Linked DNA regions of Homo sapiens: regions 1 and 2 are each linked to region 3. Evidence: promoter capture Hi-C in human tissues and cell types (Jung and others, 2019). All regions are on one chromosome and are shown on one strand. The core of a region is centred on a gene start or on the middle of the fragment in contact, and the rest is flanking DNA. Distances in the headings are between cores, read along the strand shown.

The links. Contacts are between HindIII fragments. The study calls those that stand out against the background at their distance.
Region 1: a fragment that was not itself captured here is called in contact with the fragment with the promoter of ZNF738 in region 3 in 1 of the 25 tissues and cell types used here (H1 embryonic stem cells).
Region 2: a contact is called between a fragment that was not itself captured here and the fragment with the promoter of ZNF738 in region 3, in 1 of the 25 tissues and cell types used here (mesenchymal stem cells).

The regions. Positions count from the first base shown.
Region 1 is chr19:21,826,733-21,831,055 of GRCh38, forward strand. All of the region lies in intron 1 of ZNF43 (zinc finger protein 43), which reads right to left. It also overlaps the pseudogene BNIP3P27. Among named protein-coding and RNA genes, the nearest start is that of ZNF43, 7.3 kb to the right of the region's middle. The HindIII fragment of the contact is 5,891 bases long and covers 1-4,323 here.
Region 2 is chr19:21,725,591-21,729,903 of GRCh38, forward strand. ZNF100 (zinc finger protein 100) reads right to left here. Exons shown (of 5, transcript NM_173531.4): 5 at 1-2,399. The coding sequence ends at 1,093. Among named protein-coding and RNA genes, the nearest start is that of ZNF100, 40 kb to the right of the region's middle. The HindIII fragment of the contact is 4,592 bases long and covers 1-3,981 here.
Region 3 is chr19:21,356,542-21,360,474 of GRCh38, forward strand. ZNF738 (zinc finger protein 738) reads left to right here and starts at 2,459. Exons shown (of 5, transcript NM_001355237.2): 1 at 2,459-2,602. The coding sequence starts at 2,600. RefSeq lists enhancers at 1,172-1,729, 2,521-2,820. The HindIII fragment of the contact is 7,981 bases long and covers 1-3,933 here.

The DNA.
Region 1 (4,323 bases), core at 1,037-3,536, 470 kb after region 3:
GGCTGAGGCAGGGGAATCACTTGAAACCAGGAGGCGGAGGTTGCAGTGAGCCGAGATCGCGCCACTGCACTCCAGCCTGGCGACAGAGTGAGACTCTTTGTCTCCAAAAAAAAAAAACTGTTGGGTTTTCAGCATGAGTTCAGATGATGATAACTCCGAGAGTTTTCATCGTGCATTCACAGGCACCATGGGACACTAACAGAGCTTCTGAAACAGACACCCAAAGCATTAGAAAGAAAAACAGCTCTCCATTTGAGTAACACTGTATTGAGAAAAAAAAAAAGAAGTTCAAAGCATCTTAAGAAAAAACTTAGATTAGATGAAAGATTGATCAAGTCAACCAAAAATACTCCCCTTAAACAAATTTCTCTCTAAACGAAGTGCACAGCTACTCTCAGCACAAGAAACATGAGCATTATGAAAAAAATATATATTCTCAGCAGAATTTTCTAAGGTTTCTCTTCCATGTCTGCTGCTGTCTCATCTCCTAGCCATTGGATGGGAGTTCCATATTGGAATACATCTCACAATTTCCACATGCACCTTTTGATGAAGAATTGAAATCTTGAGTTTATTCATATAGTGTAATATATTCAAGCTTGCAACACTGCTAACTGAAGAGCTACTATGTGGTTTTTTTTTTTTTGAAATGAAGTTTCCCTCTTGTTGCCCAGGCTGGAGTTCAATGGTGCGATCTTGGCTCACTGCAACCTCCGCCTCCCAGGTTTAAGTGATTCTCCTGCCTCAGCCTCCCAAGTAGCTGGGATTACAGGCATGCACCACCATACCTGGCTAATTTTTCTATTTTTGGCAGAGACAGGGTTTCTCCATGTTGGTCAAGCAGGTCTTGAATTCCCAACCTCAAGTGATCCACCCACCTTGGCCTCCCAAAGTGCTGGGATTACAGGTGTGAGCTACTGCGCCTGGCCATTTTTTTTTTTTTTTTGAGATGGAGTTGAGCTTTTGTTTCCCAGGCTGGAGTGCAATGGCACAATCTCGGCTCACTGCAACCTCCGCCTCCCAGGTTCAAGCAATTCTCCTGTCTCAGCCTCCCAAGTAGCTAGGATTACAGGCATGCACCACAATGTATGGCTAATTTTGTATTTTTAGTAAAGTTGGAGTTTCTCCATGTTGGTCAGACTGGCCTTGAAATCCCAACCTCAGGTGATCCACCCGCCTCAGCCTTCCAAAGTGCTGGGATTACAGGCGTAAGGCACCGTACCCAGCCTCTGAAGAGCTACTATATTTTTTGAGTGGCCACCTGACCTGTTTTTATCTGTCCTGTAATAGCAGCATTCCAATTTAGTTAAATGAAAGACACTAAAATTAAGCTTCCCTGTAATTATCCATATTGGATAAATTAATAAGCATGTCAGACTAATATCTATTGTAACAATTTGGTAGTGACTTTTCTTTGGATATTAGATATAAATATCTAAGTATAACCAACTTTAATGTACTAGTCATAATGTATGTAGTATTCTAAAAAATTGTTTGTAACCATATTTCAGTTAAAACTACTTTATATTTCAAAGTATGAGTAAGAATATTAAAATAACTATTTAGGCTAGGCATGGTGATTCATGCCTGTAATCCCAGCACTTTGGGAGGCCAAGGCGGGCATACCACAAGGTCAGGAGATTGAGACCATCCTGGCTAACACGGTGAAACCCCATCTCTCATAAAAATACAAAAAATTAGGCCAGGCGCGGTGGCTCATGCCTGTAATCCCAATACTTTGGGAAGCTGAGGCGGGTGGATCACCTGAGGTCAGGAGTTCGAGACCAGCCTGACCAACATGGAGAAACCCTGTCTCTACTCTAAAAGTACAAAATTTAGCCAGGCATGGTGGCACATGCCTGTAACCCCAGCTACTCAGGAGGCTGAGGCAGGAGAATCACTTGAACCCAGTAGGCGGAGGTTGCAGTAAGCTGAGATCATGCCATTGTACTCCAGCCTGGGCAACAGGAGTGAAACTCCGTCTCAAAAAAAGTAAATTTAAGGAAAAAAAAAAAATACAGCCGGACGCGGTGGCTCACGCCTGTAATCCCAGCACTTTGGGAGGCCGCAGCGAGCAGATCACGAGGTCAGGAGATCGAGACCATCCTGGCTAACACGGTGAAACCCCGTCTCTACTAAAAATACAAAAAAATAGCCGGGTGCCCTGGCGGGCGCCTATACTCCCAGCTACTTGGGAGGCTGAGCCAGGAGAATGGCGTGAACCAGGGAGGCGGAGATCGCAGTGAGCCAAAATGGCGCCACTGCACTCCAGCCTGGGCGAAAGAGAGAGACTCTGTCTCAAAAAAAAAAAAAAAAAAAAAAAAAAAAAAAAATTAGCCGGACGTGGTGGCACGTGCCTGTAGTCCCAGCTACTCCAGCTACTCAGGAGGCTAAGGCAGGAGAATCGCTTGAACCCATGAGGCAGAGGTCACAGTGAACCGAGATCGTGCCACTGCACTCGAGCCTGGGTGACAGAGTGAGACTCCATCACAAAGGAAAAAAAAACAAAAAACACCACACACAAAAAAAACTACACAGACTCCAAGGTTGAGTTTACACACTGAACTGTTCTTGCTTTTGCAGTGTAAGTACTTCAGCCTGCAAATATTAGATTACCTTGGATTATCAGTTTTCTGTCAAAGAAATTTATTCAGTATTTTTTAGTTTTTACCATTCTGTATTTCTAAATTTAATTCGTTCTTCGTACTAAACTTCTGTGTGCTCTTAAAATGAGCTTTAATCTAAACAAATCTGTGTCTACTTTAAAAGACTAAAAAAAAAATTAAATTTTCCCAAATCAAGGATAAGCAATGAATCTGAGGTCTTAAATAAAGACAATCTTGAGTCAAAAGAATGCCAAAAGATTTGGCTGTTAATATGATTTAAATATATTTCAAAAAAGCAATAAAAATATCTCCATATAATCTAAATGCTTTAAGATAAAAGAGTTGAACAAGATAGTCTCTCTTATTTTCAGGTAGGATAATAAAGCCTCTGATTTATATTTTCTTTTACAACAGCCAGGTCTCTGGACATATTGAACTCTTGAACATCTGAATTTCAGTAGACATTGGATTCATTGAGCTCCGTCTCAAAAAACAAAAAAACACAAAACCTGACATCATAAAAGAACAAGAGAAGAAAAAGCAAACTGACCTCTAAGCTAACAGAGGACAAGAAATGAAAATCAGATCTGAACTGGAGAGTTAGACAAAAAAATGATAAAAATATGGAGAAGGCTGGGTGCAGTGGCTCACCCCTGTAATCGCAGCATTTTGGGAGGCCGAGGTGGGCAGATCACTTGAGGTCTGGAGTTCGAGACCAGCCTGGCAAAATAGTGAAACCCGGTCTCTACTAAAAATACAAAAATTGGCCATGTGTATTGGTGGGCACCTGTAATCCCAGCTACTCAGGAGGCTGAGGCAGGAGAATTGCTTGAACCAGGGAGGCGGAGGTTGCAGTGAGGCGGAGGTTGCAGTGAGGCAAGGTTGTGCCACTGCACTCCAGCCTGGGCAATAGAGAGAGATTCTGTTTCAAAAACAAAATGAAAAAAAAAAACAAAACAAAAAACAAACAAACAAACAAAAAAAGAAATCCAGGAGTAAAATCTTTGAAAGAATTAATAAGATAAATAGCACTCTAGAGAGATTAATGAAGAAAGAGAAGATCCAAATAAACACGATTAGAAATGACAAAATGGCCATTAACACTGACCCAACAACAACAAAATAATTATTCAAGTCTGTAACGAACACCTCTATGTAAACAAACCGGAAAATCTAGAATAGATCAATTCCTAGACACGTACATCCTCCAAAGACTGAAAAAAAAAAAAAAAGTATCCCTGAAGAGACCAACAAGATTCAAAATTGAAGTATAATAAATAGCCTAGAAACCAATAAAAAACCAGAATCAGACATATTCACAAAAGAATTCTACCAGATGTACAAAAAAAAAAAAGCTGATACCATTCTTACTAGAGCCATTCCAAAAAATTGAGAAGGAACTCTTCCCCAACTCATTACATAATAGCATTATTCTGATACCAAAACCTGGTATAAAACAAAAAAAGAAAACTTCATGCCAATGATCTTAATAAAAAATGATGGAAAAATTCTCAACAAAATACTGGCAAACTGAATCCAGCAGCACATCAAAAAGCTAATCTACTATGATCAAGTAGCCTATATCCCTGGGATGCAAGGTTATTTCAACATACACAAATCAATAAATGTGATTAATCACATAAACAGAACTAAAGACCAAAACCACAAGATTATCTCAATAGATGCAGAAAAATCTTTCAAGAAAATTTAACATTCT
Region 2 (4,313 bases), core at 436-2,935, 370 kb after region 3:
TCACATGCTTTCACATGTAAATAGGAGTGAAGAAAAGGCAGGAAATAATTTAAGAGTTGAATTACATTATTACTCACTTTTCAAAAAATCTAATTTTTTCAAAAAGTTAAGCATACTTTGAATGCAATAACTGCAAAAAATTTCTACTTTTAAAGTTATATACAAATATTTTACCAATTTTAGTTTTAGATTATTTTCTATACTCAGCACTCTGATTTAGTAAAATACCTGAAGCATCAGTGCCTTACATATTTCTACTGTAAATTCTCTGATATTTACAGACTTAATGATTAAAATTTTTAAAAAATTTTTCCTGTATCTGCAAAAATATGTTTTAGTATGAACTCTCTGGTGTTTTCTAAGCTGTAGTTTTTGAAAAAGTATTTTTCCAACTTTATTACATTCGCACAGTTTTTTTCAATATAAATTCCCTGATATTGAACAAAGTTTGAGCAACTGCTTCAGAGGTTTCCTCTAATACAAAACGTGTACAGTAAGATCTGTGATACAAGTAAACATATTACAATTCTACTACAATGTTCTTCTTCAAAATACTCTTCACTTTAAAAGCTTATATTTTCTTAAAGATATTTTGACAGTAGTTGCACTTATGTTTTTATTGAGTATGAACTCTCTGATGTTGAGTAAGATGTGAGCATGTATTAATGGCTTTTTCACAGTCTTTATATTTGTACAATATTTCTCAAGTATAAATGCTTTCCTGTGAAGGTGTGAGCATTAGTTAAAAGTTTTGTCACACTGTTCACACATGTAGAAGTTTTCTCCAGTATAACTTACCTTACCTACAATCAAGTGTGACAACCATTTAAAACTTTATCACATTCTTCACATTTCTAGGATTTCTCAACACTATGATTTATGTTTTGAAAAGTTTGAGGTGTTTTCAAAGCACTGTCACATCTTTCTGGTTTGTAGAATTTCTCTCTAGTATGAATTATCTTATGTCTGTTAGGAATTGAGAATTTATTAAAGGCTTTGCCATATTCTTCACAGTCACAGGAGTTCCCTCCAGTATGAATTTTTTTATGTTTAGTAAGAGTTGAGGACTGGTAAAAGGCTTTGCCACATTTTTCACATTTGTAGGGTTTCTCTCCAGTATGAGTTATTTTGTTTAATAAGGCTTAGGGACTGGTTAAAGTCTTTACCACATTCTTCCCATTTGTAAGATTTCTCTCCAGTATGAGTTATCTTATGTTTAGTAAGGGTTGAGGATCGGTTAAAAGCTTTGCCACATTCCTCACATTTGTAGGGTTTCTCTCCAGTATGAATCATCTTATGTGCAGTTAGTTGTGAGGACCGGTTAAAGGCTTTGCCACATTCGTCACATTTGTAGGGTTTCTCTCCAGTATGAATCATCTTATGGGTAGTAAGGTTTGAGGACTCATTAAAAGCTTTGCCACATTCTTCACATTTGTAGGGTTTCTCTCCAGTATGAATTCTCTTATGTTTAGTGAGGGCTGAGGACCAGTTAAAGCCTTTGCCGCATTCTTCACATTTGTAGAATTTCTCTCCAGTATGACTTGTCTTATGTTTAGTAAGGTATGAGAATCGGTAAAAAGCTTTGCCACATTCTTCACATTTGTAAGGTTTCTCTCCAGCATGAGTTATCTTATGTGTAGTAAGGGTTGAGGACTGGTTAAAGGCTTTGCCACATTCTTCACATTTGTAGGGTTTCTCTCCAGTATGAATTATCCTGTGTGTAGTAAGGTGTGAGGACCGGTTAAAAGCTTTGCCACATTCTGTACATTTGTAGGGTTTCACTCCAGTATGAATTCTTTTATGTGTAGTAAGGTGTGAAGACCGGTTAAAAGCTTTCCCACATTCTTCACATCTGTATGGTTTCTCTCCAGTATGAATTATCTTATGTGTAGTAAGGTGTGAGGACCGGTTAAATGCTTTCCCACATTCTTCACATTTGTAGGGTTTCTCTCCAGTATGAATTCTCCTGTGTGTAGTAAGGGTTGAGAACCAGTTGAAGGCTTTGCCACAATCTTTACATTGGTAGGAATTCTCTGTAATATGAAATCTTTTATGTTGAGTTAGGTGTAAAAGCATGCAAAATGATTTTTCACATTTTTTACATTTGAAAGGTTTCTTTCTAGTATGTCTTATCTTATGTCTGTTTGAATTTGAAAATGTATGAAAGACTTTTGCAGATGGATCACATTGAAATATGTTGCTCTGGGTAGTTATCAAACACTGGTTTAATTTGTTATCATGTTCTTTGTGCACTTTACACTCATCCACACTTTTACAGCCTTTTTGTAACTGTAAATTGTCATGTCCATATTTTCCATATTTTTTCAGAATCGCTTCTTGAAAAGAATCTTTAATGTCCTGCTCTGCCCAAAGGTCTTGGGGAAAATGAGAACATATAACTGAAAGAAATAAAAATAACAAATTACTTTACTTACTAGACACAGATAGTTTACAAATCTAACCTCTAATATACAAACTACATAAATAAGATGGCATAGGAAAATACCAAAGGCCCTCATTCCTTTATAGACATATAAATGTAAAAAAAAAAAAACCAACCAAATTACATCTGAAAAAAATTATAAATGAGTTAAGTGTGTGAAGTGCCCCTGGTGAGAACAATGCAAAGAGCCACTTAGAAGTAAAAGTCTGTACATTTACCCAACAGAGCTCTTTCTGCTCCCCAATATAACATACTGTCTTTAGAAGTAAATTGCCAACTTGTTTTTAATGACAAGTAAAATACTGGCACATTTATCTTTATTACTTGCTTCTAGGAGCCTTTCCAGACACTGGTTTGTGTCTCTCTTGAAATATAATGCTGAAAGAAACGGTGGTATACTTTGGAGTGACAGTCTTAACTTTGCTGAGACCAAAGGTAAATGTTTCAGCAACAGAGAGACTGCTGTACCACAGACAGAAAACAGGTGTAGCACGTGATTATTATTAAGAAGAAACATGAATAAACTCCTTTAACTAAAAGAGAAAGACAAAATCTCAGACAAGACACATTCTAAGAACATGTTTGAGAGACTCCCAGAATCTCTAACCAAGACGATTGTTCAGACTATGCCAGGACAAAGCTACATTATAAAGATTGTGACAGGTAGCCTTTTTTAATGTCCAAATTTCAATCAAGGATTACAATGTATACAAAATAAGGCAATATGGTTCCATAAAAATATAAAATTTTAAAAAAGAAACTATAAAAAAGATGTATACACACCGATTTTAAAAATTGAAAATAAATTGAATAATACTCAGTGAGTGAAACAGGAAGACAGAGAACTATAGAAAATCAGAAAAATGAAGATAAGAACATAAATATTTAGAATATCAAAAAAACAAATTGTGGAGGTAATAAATATAAAAAAGAATAGCTGAAAAATATTGAAAGAAACGATGTAAAGATGAAGAAGCTCAACAAACAAACTAGGAAACACACAAAGATATTTATAACAAACACATATATAAGCACAATTTCAAAAGTCACAGACAAGAGAACCTTGGGAGCTGCAAGATAAAAGTGATGCGTCATTTGCCAGCATAGTCTTATGAGACAGCCAGTGAATTGTCAATAAAAATTTTGCAGGCCAGAAGGGAAGTGTGTAATAAAGTCAAACTCCTGTAAAATACAGCAATCAAGTAAGCATAATACTATCAGCAAATCTGTCCTGCCAAATAAAAAGAAAATAACTTTCAAAAGTAACAAAATTCTGAAAAGTATATTGGAACTCCATAAACCCTACATACAAAATGTACTGAAAGCAGTTGCTTCTATTGAAAATAACATGATTCAACAAAAACAACACAGTCAAATAAAAATACATTACTTTCGGGAGGGGGGAGGGATAGCATTAGGAGAAATACCTAATGTAAACGACGAGTTAATGGGTGCAGCACACCAACATGGCACATGTATACATATGTAACAAACCTGTACATTGTGCACATGTACCCTAGAACTTAAAGTATAATAATGAAAGAAAAAATAAAAACAAAACAAAACAAAAACAAAAAACAACAAAAAAATACATTACTTTCTGGGAAAGATTATATGCACATATATACTTTTACTTCTAAGTATATGCACATACACCAAAATGGAATTCCTTAGCATTATCATAATGGTGCAGAAAACATTTTTAATTATTCTCTAAAATTTGAAAGTGAAAATCAGAGAAATCATTATAAACATCTGTTAATAAATATACAACATAAAAAGATATAATTAGCAAAATCAATGACAAATTTGAGGGGAGAAGTAATGAGAAAAAAAATGTGCATGCAACTGAAGTTCTTTTTTACCAGAT
Region 3 (3,933 bases), core at 1,209-3,708:
GTCTTATTCCAGTCACTTAGTACTCGTGGGTCTTTGGACATGTTTGTTGATGTGGAGAAGCTCTATATACCACATATGCAAAAAAGGTAGACTGATACTGATTGCAAAATGGCAGCAATTTTTCTGCCCTCTTGTATCTATGCCCATTGTCAGGTGCTTTTACAGCTGTTTCCATCAAGATCCAGAATCTGTCTTCTAAACCCTAGATCTGGCTGGCCTTATTTGCTCAGGGCAGTAGAAACTTGTGAACATGACAGTGGGCTAGTTTGGGGCCCAGGCTCAAATGGTCTTGAATACTTCTGTTTTTTGTTCAGAATGCTGCAATCTCCATGAATAAAGCCCATGTTAGCAAGCTTAAAAATAAGATACCATGAGGAGGAGAAGCAAGGTGCCCCTGTTGAGCCCCAGAAGCAGAAGATCACCCCCAGAAGTACAGCTGGCTAGTCAACAAGCAGCTGATGATACCAGTCTGAAAGAGCTCAGCTGATACCAGAAGAACGGCCCCACTCACCCAGCCTAAATGGCTGATCATCTTAATTATAAACTAGTAAGTTTTGGATGATTTGTTATGCTGCAATAGCTAACTAATACATGCACCAGTGCAGATAGGATGCCAGGATTCAGTGACAGGTTGATTACTTGTTGCCTTCTAACAGTGGGCACCCTCTAGGTACTGATTTCTTCCCCTAATTTAAAGTTGGATGTCTTGAAAGAGAATGTTGGGTAATGCAGAAATACTGGGAGACATGTATGCATGTGATTGGTGTTTATATTCGCACAGTCCCCACACCACAGGAGAAAACAGATAACCACAGCCTCGCAATTAGGGTCAAGGCCAAATAGCAAAATAAGTTTGCCTTTAATCTATTTTCTCTGTATCTAAACACTGGAGTCCAAGAATGTGGGCAGAACTGAAGACACAGAGTTTTTTTCTCCTAAGCTCCATCATCCTATGTTCACAGCCTAATCTCTAAAAGAAAGGTGGGCAACAGGTGGTAAGCAGTGGTTTACCTGTGGTTATTTTATTTCTGCTGCCCTCAGCTCTTTCTATGGCCACTATCTGTTCCAACCTCAGAACTGAAGATAGATGTTAGTAGGGAGAGGCCCTTCCTTCCCCTCTGGCCCTTCACACCATTGACATCAGAGCTGCCATGTGTGGCTCCTGGGTGCCTGGAATGTGCTTGGTCTGAACCGCGATATGCTAGAAAGGTAAAACACAGAGTTATTTTCAAAAATTTAGTTGCAAATATTTATATACTTCATTAATAATTACATATTCCTCACACATTAAAATGATATTTTGTATATATTAGGTTAATTACATTGTTACAATCAATTCAACCTGTTCCTTGTTATTGTTGTTGTTGTTGTTGCTGTTGTTGCAGTCTGTCACTAGGCTGGAGTGCAGTGGCGCAATCTCGGCTCACTGCAACCTCTGCCTCCCGGGTTCAAGCGATTCTCCTGCCTCAGCCTCCCCAGTAGCTGGGATTACAGGCATGCGCCACCACGCCTGGCTAATTTTTATATTTTTTTCAGTAGAGACAGGGTTTAGCCATATTGCCAGGAGGGTCTCAATCACTTGATCTCGTGATCCACCAGCCTCGGCCTCCCAAAGTGCTGGGATTACAGGCGTGAGCCACTGCGCGTGGCCTCTTGTTTCTTTATATTTTTCACCCCCCAAAACGGAGTCTCGCTCTGTCCGCCCAGGCTGGAGTGCAGTGGCGCGATCTCTGCTCACTGCAACCTCCTCCGCCTCCCGGGTTCAAGCAATTCTCCTGCCTCAGCCTCCTGCGTAGCTGGGATTACAGATGTCCACCACCACGCCCGGCTAATTTTTGTATTTTTAGTAGAGACGTGGTTTCACCATGTTAGCCAGGCTGGTCTCAAACTCCTGACCTCTTGATCTGCCCGCCTTGTACTCCTAAAGTCCTAGGATTACAGGCGTGAGCCACCATGCCTGGCCCCTTGTTTCTTTTTAATTTTCTAGTTTGGCTACCAGAAAATTCAAAATTCACGTGGCTCACATTTTATTTCAGAGGATTACCTCCTTTTTAAAATCTCAGGCTGCCTGCTCAAAGGACCGTAAGCCAGGAAAGTAAAAAAACCCTGAAATTTTAAAACATTTGTTATTATATCCTTTTCATTTATGTATAGCCATATGATATAGTATTTACAAATGCATATGACCTTATACGCAAGGTTGAATGCAAATACCCTTTGGGGTGGGCCTATCTCAGCTCAAGGAGGAAGCCCTGCCTGAAAAGGCTGCAGCCTAGGCGGTCACTCTTTCTTCATTCAGCCCAGCATCTAATTACATCTTCTGTCAGTCAGGGCCTGAGAGGGTGGGGTTTTAAACGTTATCCAATCAGCGACGCTGGGCTGGGAACTGTCCAATCAGGCACGCAGCTTGAGCGGAGAGGACGGCTTCCGGGATGTGGCGGGATTTGTCCGCTTCTTTGTCTTTGGCTGCCGCTGGAACTCCGGGTCTCGTCTTCACTGCTCTGTGTCCTCTGCTCCTAGAGGCCCAGCCTCTGGTCCTGTGACCTGCAGGTATTGGGAATCCACAGCTAAGACGCCGGGACACCCTGGAAGCCTAGAAATGGTGAGAGTGCGGGGTCCAACATCCCGAGAGAGGGGAAGGGCTGGTTGGAACCGGTGGGAAGTGGCTGTGGCGAGACTCAGGCCTCCCCGCAGTCAGCTCTACAATCTGCGCCCCGAGTTCTCCTTGCCCAGCTCGGCCTCAGTCGCCTTCAGCCATAAGATGGCGGTTGCGCCGACAGCCCGGCCCCCGGGCGTCCTGTCTCTTCCCTGCATAGTGACTGTGCCCTTGCCTGGAGCCCTCTCTGGGGAATCTCTGCACCCGCAGCGCCGCTTCTCTACCGGATTGTGCAGGGACCGTGGGAGGGTCGTCAGGGGAGAATCCTGACTTGGGGTGCGGGTTCATGAATGGGAAGAGGTTTGTTCCGTGGGGTTCCCAGTTCCTATTATCTCCTATTAAAAGTTAATGGGAGTCACTGCAAAAATATTAAAAGAATTTAATCAAAGAGTGGTTCTAGGCTGGGCGCGGTGGCTCACGCCTGTAATCCCAGCACTTTGGAAGGCCGAGGTGGGCGGATCAGAGGTCAGGAGATCAAGACCATCCTGGCTAACACGGTGAAACCCCGTCTCTACTAAAAATACAAAAAATGAGCCGGGCGTGGTGGCGGGCGCCTGTAGTCCCAGCTACTCAGGAGGCTGAGGCAGGAGAATGGCGTGAACCCAGGAGGCAGAGCTTGCAGTGAGCCGAGATCGTGCCACTGCACTCCAGCCTGGGCGACAGAGCGAGACTCTTGTCTCAAAAAAAAAATTAACTTATTAAATAATTTAATCAAAAAGTGGTTCTAGAATTGTAGAGCACCAAGCTGTGGTTTTTAGTTTGTGGTCTATGGGAGAGGCTTGAAAGAAAGTCTTTTGTAAAATGCATGATGAAGAAAACCAAATTTAGTAATTGGTTAGGTACAGTTACGTGGTTTTTTAATTTGTACATTAAAGGTGAAAATTTCCTGGTTATGTAATCGGAGCTCAATTGGCAGTTTATAGTAGGTGAAGCCTCAATTTTGTTTCTCTGAATTTAGTAATTAAAAATAATGCGCCTGAGTTAGATTTTTTAAATTGAAGTAGGAACCCAGGGACTAGAGAAACCTCAGTCTAATTGCCTGCCACTTAATTATTTTCACACTCCACAGGGAACTGATTTTCTGCTGCATTTTTCACCTGGGTCCCAATCAGGGTCTTAAGTCTAACCCCCATCCCTCATTACTCCAACCTCATTCTTGCTTGCAGTAAGATACTAAATTTCCAATTTCTTCTGGGGTTCCCAAATGCCAGCTTTTCCTCCCTAATTCACATTATCACGTATTTGTGTTTTTTTGTTTGTTTTGTTTTGTTTTTGAG